Linked DNA regions of Homo sapiens: all the other regions are linked to region 3. Evidence: promoter capture Hi-C in human tissues and cell types (Jung and others, 2019). All regions are on one chromosome and are shown on one strand. The core of a region is centred on a gene start or on the middle of the fragment in contact, and the rest is flanking DNA. Distances in the headings are between cores, read along the strand shown.

Region 1 (3,025 bases), core at 387-2,886, 600 kb after region 3:
TGTAAGTAATGCTTCCCTACTGGGCTATTTTCCTTTTTTTCTTTTTTGAGAGGGAGTCTCACTGTCGTCCAGGCTGGAGTGCAATGGCGGGATCTCACTCACGGCGACCTCCACCTCCCAGGTTCAAGCGATTCTCCTGCCTCAGCCTCCTGAGCAGCTGGGATTACAGACACCTGCTACCATACCCGGCTAATTTTTGTATTTTAAGTAGTGACGGGGTTTCACCATGTTGGTCAGGCTGGTCTCGAACTCCTAACCTCAAGTGATCTACCCACTTCGGCCTCCCAAAGGGCTAGGATTACAGGCGTGAGCCACCACGCCCGGCTTTTTTTTTTTTTTTTTTTTTTTTTTTTTTTGTGAGACAGTCTCACTCTGTAATCCAGACTGGATTGCAAGGGGCGTGATCTCGGCTCACTGCAATTTCTGCCTCCCGGGTCCAGGTTCAAGCAATTCTCCTGCCTCAGGCTCCCGAGTAGCTGGGATTAAAGGCGTGCGCCACCACACCCAGCTAATTTTTGTATTTTCAGTAGAGACCGGGTTTCACTATGTTGGCCAGGCTGGTCTCGAACTCCTGACCCTGAGTGATCCACCCGCCTTGGCCTCCCCAAAAGCTGGGATTACAGCCCTGAGCCACGGCGCCCGGCCTGTTTTTTTGTTGTTGTTGTTTTGTTTTTAATAAAAGAGGCGGGGTCTCACCCCGTTGCCCAGGTTGGTCCAGAACTCCCGGGCTCAGGCGACCCTCCCCTCTGCGGGCCAGGCCACCGCGCCCGCCGCCTCGGGTGTTTTCTTAGGAAAGCTGTGCGGTGGCTGGACTCAAAAACCCCGAACCTAAATCTGCCCGCAGACGGACACCAGCTTCCTCTTACCTCAAGCAAAAGGGCATTCAGGTCCTGATGGCTTCGCAGGAGGCGCACAGCTGATTCCTTTAATTTCTGTGCCCTTTCAGGATTATATTTTTCCCTCTTGACCCTTCCCGCTACGGAGAGAAGTCGGTTCGAAACCATCACAGCACAATTCACACACGGGGTCCCCGGCCCGACGCGCAGGTGGACGCCGCGGAGAAACCCACCAGCGACACCCTCCCGAAGAGGGGCCGGGGCTCCTCCCCAGGGCGCAGGTCTCGGGAAACTAACGGAGACGGCCCCACCGCGGACGCCGGGGAAGACGGCCCAGGAGGGCCCGAGGCAGGGGAGCCCGGGGACGGCTGGCGAGGGGCGGCCTCTGCGCTGAGGGGAGCCCCAGGCCGCGCACCCCAGGCCCGCCTGACAGGGCGGCCGGCGGGGGCGGCGTTCGGGAAAGAAGGGAGCGCCCCGCGGGCGGCGGCTGGGGGCGTCCGCCCAGGCGCAGGAGGGGCCGGGTCCGAGGCAGCCGCGCCGCCCCAGCCGGGCGCCCACCCCGCACAGCCCCCCGGGCGCGGCGTCCGGGGATCCGACCGGCGGAGGCTCTGGCGGGAAGGGATCGGGGAACCGGCGAAACCGTCCCGGGCCGGACGCCGCCCACTCCCGCGGCCTGCCGCGCCCACCTACCCAGCAGCTCGGCCCAGGCCCTCCGGCGGCCCCCTGGGTCCTGGCCCGAGGCGGAGTTCGGGACCCACGAGTCGGACATGGCCTTGGCGCCTACAGCCCCGGCGGCGGCTCCCTGCGCCCGAGCCCGCGCTGCCTTCCTATTGGCTGCGGCCAGGCGCGCACACCCGTTGGCTGGCGGCGGCCAGGCCACGCCCCTCAGGTCGAGGCCTTGCGTCGTGGCCATGTTGGTCCTGGGGGAGGCGCCTGCGCGCGGTGAGGTAGTTTTTGCGTTTGGCTTTGCCGCCGCGGTGTAGTCCGCGGGGGCGTCTCGCGCGGGCAGACTGCCGCCCCTCAAGCGTGGTTCCTGCCGGGAATGACTGGGGTTGGTCCTGAAGAGACCACCTGGCCAACCAAGCCGAGGCAGGCTCAGAGCGCCGCGGGGAGCGCAAAGCCGCGCGCGCCTCTGAGCTCCGGGCAGCCGCTGTTCCTCCCGGCGGCCGAACGGTCCGCGCGCAGGGCGGTGTTTCGGCAGCCGGAGACCGCGCGGTAGCCGCGCCTGTATTCCCAGCGCTTTGGGAGGCCGAGGCTGGAGGGTCGCTTGAGCCCAGGAATTCCAGACTAGCCTGGGCAACAGAGCGAGACCCCATCACTTTTGTTTCTTTTCTTTTTTTTTTTTTTCCTTTTTTTGAGACGGAGTCTCCCTCTGTCGCCCAGGCTGGAGTGCAGTGGCGCGATCTCGGCTCACTGCAACGTCTGCCTCCTGGGTTCAGGTGATTCTCCTGCCTCAGCCTCCCGAGTAGCTGGGATTGCAGGTGCGCGCCACCACGCCTGGATGATTTTTGTTATTTTTAGTAGAGACAGCGTTTCGCCATGTTGGCCCAGGCTAGTCTCGAACTCCGGACCTCAGGTGATCCGCCCGCCTCGGCCTCCCAAAGTGCTGGGATTACAGGCGTGAGCCACCGCACCCGGCTGAGACCCTATCTTTTAACCAGCCTGGGCGGCAGAGCGAGACTCTGTCTCAAAACAAAACCAAACATAAGAATTCGTAAAAGCGAGTGCCTAGGCGAAGCTAATGTGCCTCAAAGTCCTGGGTAAGTAGAGGCCCTGGAGACCCGTCCGCATCCTCTGGCAGTGGCCTTGGAACCACCGAAGGGATTCAGCCGAAGGGCCGCGTTCCCGGCAGGCGTCTTTATTGTGTTGATTACGTAGATGGCGTAGATGACGTAGATGACGTTCAGCACCACAAACGAAGAGCCGAGGCACAGAGTGGGGCCTTGGATTCATGAGATGGGGATGGAGCAGAAATGAGAATTCGGAGTCCATGAAACCCCCACAAAGACTCCTGCACGGCCCGACTCGGACACTTTGCAATCTGCTGGTTGAGGGGGATGGTGTGAACTCAGGGAACAGCCTGAGATCGCGCCGCTGCACTCCAGCCTGGGCAACAGAGCAAGACCCTGTTTCAAAAACAAAAAATAACACTAAGCAATTAACAGGACTAGACTCAGAGGTGATCGAGA
Region 2 (2,934 bases), core at 245-2,744, 660 kb after region 3:
CTCCTCCGGTCACACAGCCAGCAATAAGCTAATGTGTAGTGCTTGGTAAGGACGACGGTTGTTCTGGTTCTACGGGGACTCACACTCCCTATCATGGGGAGACTGGGTTGTAATTCATACAGGAACACTTGGAAATGAAAGCCCACGTTAAAACCCTAAACCACGGCAGGTGCAGTGGCTCACACCTGTAATCCCAGCACTTTTGGAGGGTGAGGTGGGCAGATCACTTGAGGTCAGGAGTTCGAGACCAGCCTGGCCAACATGGTGAAACCCCATCTCTACTGAGTACAAAAATTAGCCGGGCATGGTGGCACATGCCTGTAGTCCCAGCTACTCGGGAGGCTGAGACAGGAGAAGTGCTTGAGCCTGGGAGATGGAGGTTGCAGTGAGCCGAGATTGCGCCACTGCACTCCAGCCTGGGCAACAGAGCAAGACCTCATCTCACAAAATAAAATAAAACCCTAACCCATCCTGGGAGGGGCCAGGCCGGCTCACCAGGGCTGCTGCTTGTGCTCATGAAGCCGCAGTAAGTCGGGCAGGAGGCTGCTGGCACCTGTCTTCTCTATGCCCTCCTGTCCCCATGTCCCCAACCCCAGGCACAGGAAGCTGTGCCCTCCGCCCACTGAACCCAGCACTGTCTCAGCCTCATCTACTTTATTTTTTTCATTTTTTTGAGACAGGGTCTGGCTCTGTCGCCCAGGCTGGAGTGCAGTGGCGCGATCTCGGCTCACTGCAGCCTCAGCCTCCCGAGTAGCTGGGATTACAGGCGTGCGCAGCCACGCCCAGCTAATTTTTGTATTTTTAGTAGAGGGAGTTTCACCGTGTTGCCCAACCTGGTCTCGAATTCCCGACCTCAGGTGATTCGCCCACCTTGGCCTCCCAAAGTGCTGGGATTACAAGCGTGAGCACCGCGCCCGGCCCTTAGATCGTGACAAACGCGGGCGGCCTGTCCTAGAACTGTCAGAACCACTGTCCCTAAAGAGGCCTCGGGCGGGCAGTAAGGGCCGCGTCACTCAATGCTGCTCGAGGGGCGGCGGCTCCAGGGCAGAGGCGGGCATCGACGGCTAGATCACTCGAATGACACCCTGACACGAAAAGGACCAACTAGCAACGTCCGGGACGCAGCTGAAATGCTGCAGGCACGGTGCGGGGACAGGCCCCGGCGGGCAGAACGCGGCTGCGGGTTCCGGGCCACATGGATGGGCAAGGCCGGGCAGGGCCGACTGTCGCCGGCTGCGCGCCCGTTACCCCGAATCGAAGCCCGTCATCCCCGCGGGGCACCTCTCCATGCCCGGTGCGCACGGCGCGCAGACACCCAGCTCTCCAGAGACCTGGCCCGGACCCCCCGGAGCCCGCCCAGACGCCGCCGCTGAAGCGGGAAAGTTCCGGAGAGCCGCGACGCGCAGGCGCCGCAGCCAGGTCCTGCCCCCACCCCTCGCGCCAAGAGTGCGCAGGCGCGCAGCCAGCTCCCCCGCCCCCGACCCCGCGCGAAGAGTGCGCAGGCGCGCCGACAGCCGAGTTTTCTGCGCTTCCTTCTCCCTCTCTCCAGACGTCGTGGTCGTTCGGTCCTATGTCGCGCCGGGCCCTCCGGAGGCTGAGGGGGGAACAGCGCGGCCAGGAGCCCCTCGGGCCCGGCGCCTTGCATTTCGATCTCCGTGATGACGATGACGCGGAAGAAGAAGGGCCCAAGCGGGAGCTTGGTGTCCGGCGTCCCGGGGGCGCAGGGAAGGAGGGCGTCCGAGTCAACAACCGCTTCGAGCTGGTGAGGAGCGCGGCGGCCCGGGTGGGGGTGGGGTGGCCCTTGACGTTGTGGGGCGGGGCGAGCGTCCAGCCGGGTCGGGGAGCGGGGTTGTGATGCCAGGGGTGGGAAGGGTGACGTGGGTCCCAGCCGCAGTGGGGAGGGCGGGGCCGTGCGTCGGGGCCAGGGCGACGCGGGTGGGCGGTGGCGTGGGGTGAAGACGGCGGGCCGCGGAGTTAGACTGGGTTCTAACCCCGGTGAGGTGGGCGGGGCTAAGGGATGGGGCGGGGCCGTGCTGTCGGGGCGGGGCGACCGAATGGGCGGGGTTAAGCGGGGTCCGGGTTGTGGAGGGTGCGGGGCCTTGATGCCAAGGGCGTGGCCAACGTCCGCGGGGCCGGGCCACGACGTGGGCGGGATTAAATGGGCCTGCGGCCACGTGGCTGTCGTGGGGCCGTGACGCTAAAGGGCGTGGCTAAAGACGGGGGGGTGGCGAGGCGATGGCGTGGGCGGGGTTAAATGAGGCCTGGGGCCACCGTGGGGGTGGGGCCACGGCGTAGGGGCAGGAGTCGGGTGGGGCTTCCCTTTCTCGAGTCTAGAGGGGCCTTCTCTCGGTTCCAGGGTTGAGGACTTGCCAGGCCTCTGCGAGCATTCTGCTTTAATCCTCACAACAACTCTGCCTAACCCAGGGCCTTGCTCTTCGCGCATCCCCATCAGCCTAACCCAGCGGATTAGTCTTACTCTTTGCTGCATCTCCGGCAGCTCGTTTCTGGCACAGGGAAGTAACAGTTTGACTGTATGGTTTGCTCATGCGGTCCTGTGACGTTTTCTCCTAAGCCCTGGCCTCCGTCTGTAACTCTGCCTCTGCGGGCTCTGCGATCCTCCCACCTCAGCCTCCTGAGTATCTAGGACTACAGGTGGATGTCACCACGCCCGGCTAATTTTTTTTTTTTTTCTTTTTTGTAGAGAAGAGTTTTCGCCTTGTTGCCCAGGCTGGTCTAGAACTTCTGCGCTCAAACAATCTGTCCACCTCAGCCTCACAAAGTGCTGGGACTACAGGCGTGAGTCACCATGCTTGGTTGACTGCCCTTCTCGCATCAAGTCCACCTTTAGTGGTCCCCAAGACCCCCGTCAAGGTTCAGTAATTTGCTAGATTCACAGCAGTTACTGAAAGCTTTTTGTTTTGAGATGGAATCTTG
Region 3 (2,825 bases), core at 284-2,783:
AATAGCTGGAACCTGGGAGGCGGAGGTTGCAGTGAGCCAAGATCGTGCCACTGCACTCCAGCCTGGACGACAGAGGGAGACTCCGTATCAAAATTAATAAATAATAAATAAAACACATCCCAAACACTCATAGTGTTGAACCATTTAGCATGTGGTTGCTTTGTATACTTCGTGAAATTGTGTCCAATCTCTGCTAGCCATAGATAAGATAAATCCTGGGGCTCTAAAGACTGCAAGCCGTTGCTGCCCTTCAGAGCTTTGTGACTCAGACACCTGTCAGGCTGCTGAGAAACGTGATCTAGTCACGTCAGCCCTCCCCCTGTCTGATCTCCTTCTTCTCTGGGAGTTCTCTGCGCGCCCCCCGCCCACGCTCATTTTTTTCTCTTTTCTGAGTAGTGACCCCCAATTCGAAGCCTGTGGGTAATCTCATGGTGCGTGAGACTCCCTCACCCTCCAACCTGTCAAAGCTTGTGCGCCACCGCCACCTCCTGGGCACATCTTGTTTCTTAATCAGCCACGAAATCACGTGAACACTTCACATGTGGTTTTGTTTTGTTTTTCACATTTAGACTCCTGATCCGTTTGGAGTTTATCCCTGTGAGATCCAGAATTAATTTCATCATTTCTCAGACGGCTAACCATTTGTCTTAGCACCTTTCATTATAAACTGCATGTTTGTTCCACCGCTCTGAAATTATGTTTATGAACCAAATTTCCATGTTACTGGGTTGATGTCTGGATATTCCATTTGTTTCCTGTTCATGTGTCACTAGCACACAGTTTTAATGACAGAGGCTGTTTTCGCATCTGTCGGGCATTGCGCTTTTGTTTGTCCGCGTCGTCTGCGTTATGAGACATTTGTTCCTCCATGTGAACTCCAGGATCAATATGCCTGGTTCCAAAAAAAAAACCTTTTCGTATTGTTACTGGAATCATGTGACATTTCTGAATGAACCTTGGGAGAACCCCTGGTATCAGTGCTATTTTGCAACGTAGTATAGGTGGTCTTGGCTCCTACGGTACATTAGAAAAGTAACAGAAACGCATATTTGAAGCGAAAAATAGATGAACATTTACAGAAAAAAAAAATACCACATTGAAAATGCAGTGGAATCAACTGTTAAAAGTTCGGCGTGATGTTCAGACAGATAAAAAGGAACGGGGCCAGTGACTCCCTGCAGAGATCGAGAGAAGACCGAGCACTCCCAGCACCCGCGGGCTTCTCGCTGTGACCGAACCGCGGGCCGCGCTCGCGACGAGCACTTCCTGGCTGTACCCGCCCAACCGCGCCCTCCTGGTCTGTTCCGGCTCCGCAGTTGCGTCCAGAGGCCTGATCCTTACGTCCGCCTGGTCCTCCGGGCCTGTCTCTGCCTCCAGCCCGGTTCCCAAGGGCGCCCCGGGGCCCTCCCGCACCCTCGCGGAAGAAACTACTACCTCCCCGCACCATAGGCCAAAGCTTCGGCCCGGAGGCTGGAGGCGGAAGTGACGCCAAAGACGCGCCGGCCCCTCTTCCGGCGCCGGCCCCGCCTCCGCCTGTCTTACAGCTGATCCGGTTCTTGCGGCGGTGCGTGCTGGCGCCGGAGAGTTCCGCGCGTGTCCTCGGGCTGTCCGCGGGGAAGCTGGTCCGGGAGTGGGCGCCCGCCCGCCTGCCTCGCGCCTTGCGCCCCCGGCACCGCTTCCAGAAGGGAAAGTCGCCGCCGCTCGCGGTAGACCCGGGCAGCGCTTCCATTCCGCGGAGCTGGTGAGAGAGGGGCCCTTTGCTTCCTTCACTTTGAACAGGGCGTGTTTCTGTGAGAATCTGGCTTCGGCTTTGACGTTTTTTATTTGTTTCTGGCACATTGTGTTGGGACCGAAGCGTAAGGTAGACCCCTGAGCGCCCCGGGCGTGCAGCTCCCTGTGAAAGTTAGCCCGTGGGGGCCAGCGGGAGCGCGCGTCCCTCGCCGCCGGGACTTCCAGGCCCGGCCCTCGGGGCGGGAGGGATGCGGCCGTTGTCCCGCTGGTCTTGGAGTAATCGAATCCACGGTGAACAGTGTGTTTCGACTAACTGTATTTTTTCTCACGTTTTGCTTTAGAAAATCTGAATCTAATAAAAATGTGAACATCTGCTACAAGGAATATCCACTGCAATCGTTTTACTCCTTTTTAGCTTTGGGCCATGTTTTCTCTCTCCCCCAATAAATAAACCTTACGGTGAATTATTATTTGAGTGTAAGTAAGTTGAAATTAAACTGCACACATGATACTTAACCTTTAAATACTTGGTAAAGCGTCTGTTAAGGGTAAGGACATTATCCTACTGAAACCACAATATTAGTATTTCATCTAAGAAAATTAAAATTAGGCCGGGCGCGGTGGCTCACGCCTGTAATCCCAGCACTTTGGGAGGCCGAGGCGGGTGGATCACGAGGTCAGGAGACCGACACCATCCTGGCTAACACGGTGAAACCCCATCTCTACTAAAAATACAAAAAATTAGCCGGGCGTGGTGGCGGGCTCCTGTAGTCCCAGCTACTCTGGAGGCTGAGGCAGGAGAATGGCGTGAACCCGGGAGGCGGAGCTTGCAGTGAGCCGAGATGGCGCCACTGCACTCCAGCCTGGGCGACAGAGCGAGACTCCGTCTCAAAAAATAATAATAATAATTAAAAATAATAAGGTCCGCTGGGCACAGTGGCTCACGCCTGTAATCCTAGCACTTTGGGAGGCCGAGGCGGGTGGATCATCTGAGGTCGGGAGTTCAAGACCAGCCTGACTAACATGGAGAAATCCCGTCTCTACTAAAAGTACAAAATTAGCCTTGCATGGTGGCGCATGCCTGTAATCCCAGC

Evidence for each region. The method cuts DNA at HindIII sites, captures the fragments that hold promoters and counts their contacts. A contact is called where the count stands out against the background at its distance.
Region 1: the fragment with the promoter of FANCA here is called in contact with the fragment with the promoter of ZNF778 in region 3 in 2 of the 25 tissues and cell types used here (lymphoblastoid cells and mesendoderm cells).
Region 2: a contact is called between the fragment with the promoter of TCF25 here and the fragment with the promoter of ZNF778 in region 3, in 1 of the 25 tissues and cell types used here (mesendoderm cells).

What each region holds. Positions count from the first base shown.
Region 1 is chr16:89,815,011-89,818,035 of GRCh38, forward strand. FANCA (FA complementation group A) reads right to left here and starts at 1,637. Exons shown (of 43, transcript NM_000135.4): 1 at 1,527-1,637; 2 at 867-976. The coding sequence starts at 1,605. RefSeq lists silencers at 1,141-1,190, 1,421-1,710 and enhancers at 1,571-1,865, 2,251-2,300. The HindIII fragment of the contact is 15,845 bases long and covers 1-3,025 here.
Region 2 is chr16:89,872,098-89,875,031 of GRCh38, forward strand. TCF25 (TCF25 ribosome quality control complex subunit) reads left to right here and starts at 1,495. Exons shown (of 18, transcript NM_014972.3): 1 at 1,495-1,762. The coding sequence starts at 1,571. It overlaps LOC112268179 (a long non-coding RNA gene), which reads right to left and starts at 1,391. Exons shown (of 2, transcript XR_002957933.2): 1 at 871-1,391. RefSeq lists enhancers at 253-1,209, 980-1,139 and silencers at 1,220-1,339, 1,810-2,279. The HindIII fragment of the contact is 23,130 bases long and covers 1-2,934 here.
Region 3 is chr16:89,216,170-89,218,994 of GRCh38, forward strand. ZNF778 (zinc finger protein 778) reads left to right here and starts at 1,534. Exons shown (of 7, transcript NM_001201407.2): 1 at 1,534-1,741. ZNF778-DT (ZNF778 divergent transcript) reads right to left here and starts at 1,484. Exons shown (of 1, transcript NR_186410.1): 1 at 1-1,484. RefSeq lists enhancers at 72-366, 1,316-1,365, 1,890-2,420, 2,421-2,825. The HindIII fragment of the contact is 6,098 bases long and covers 962-2,825 here.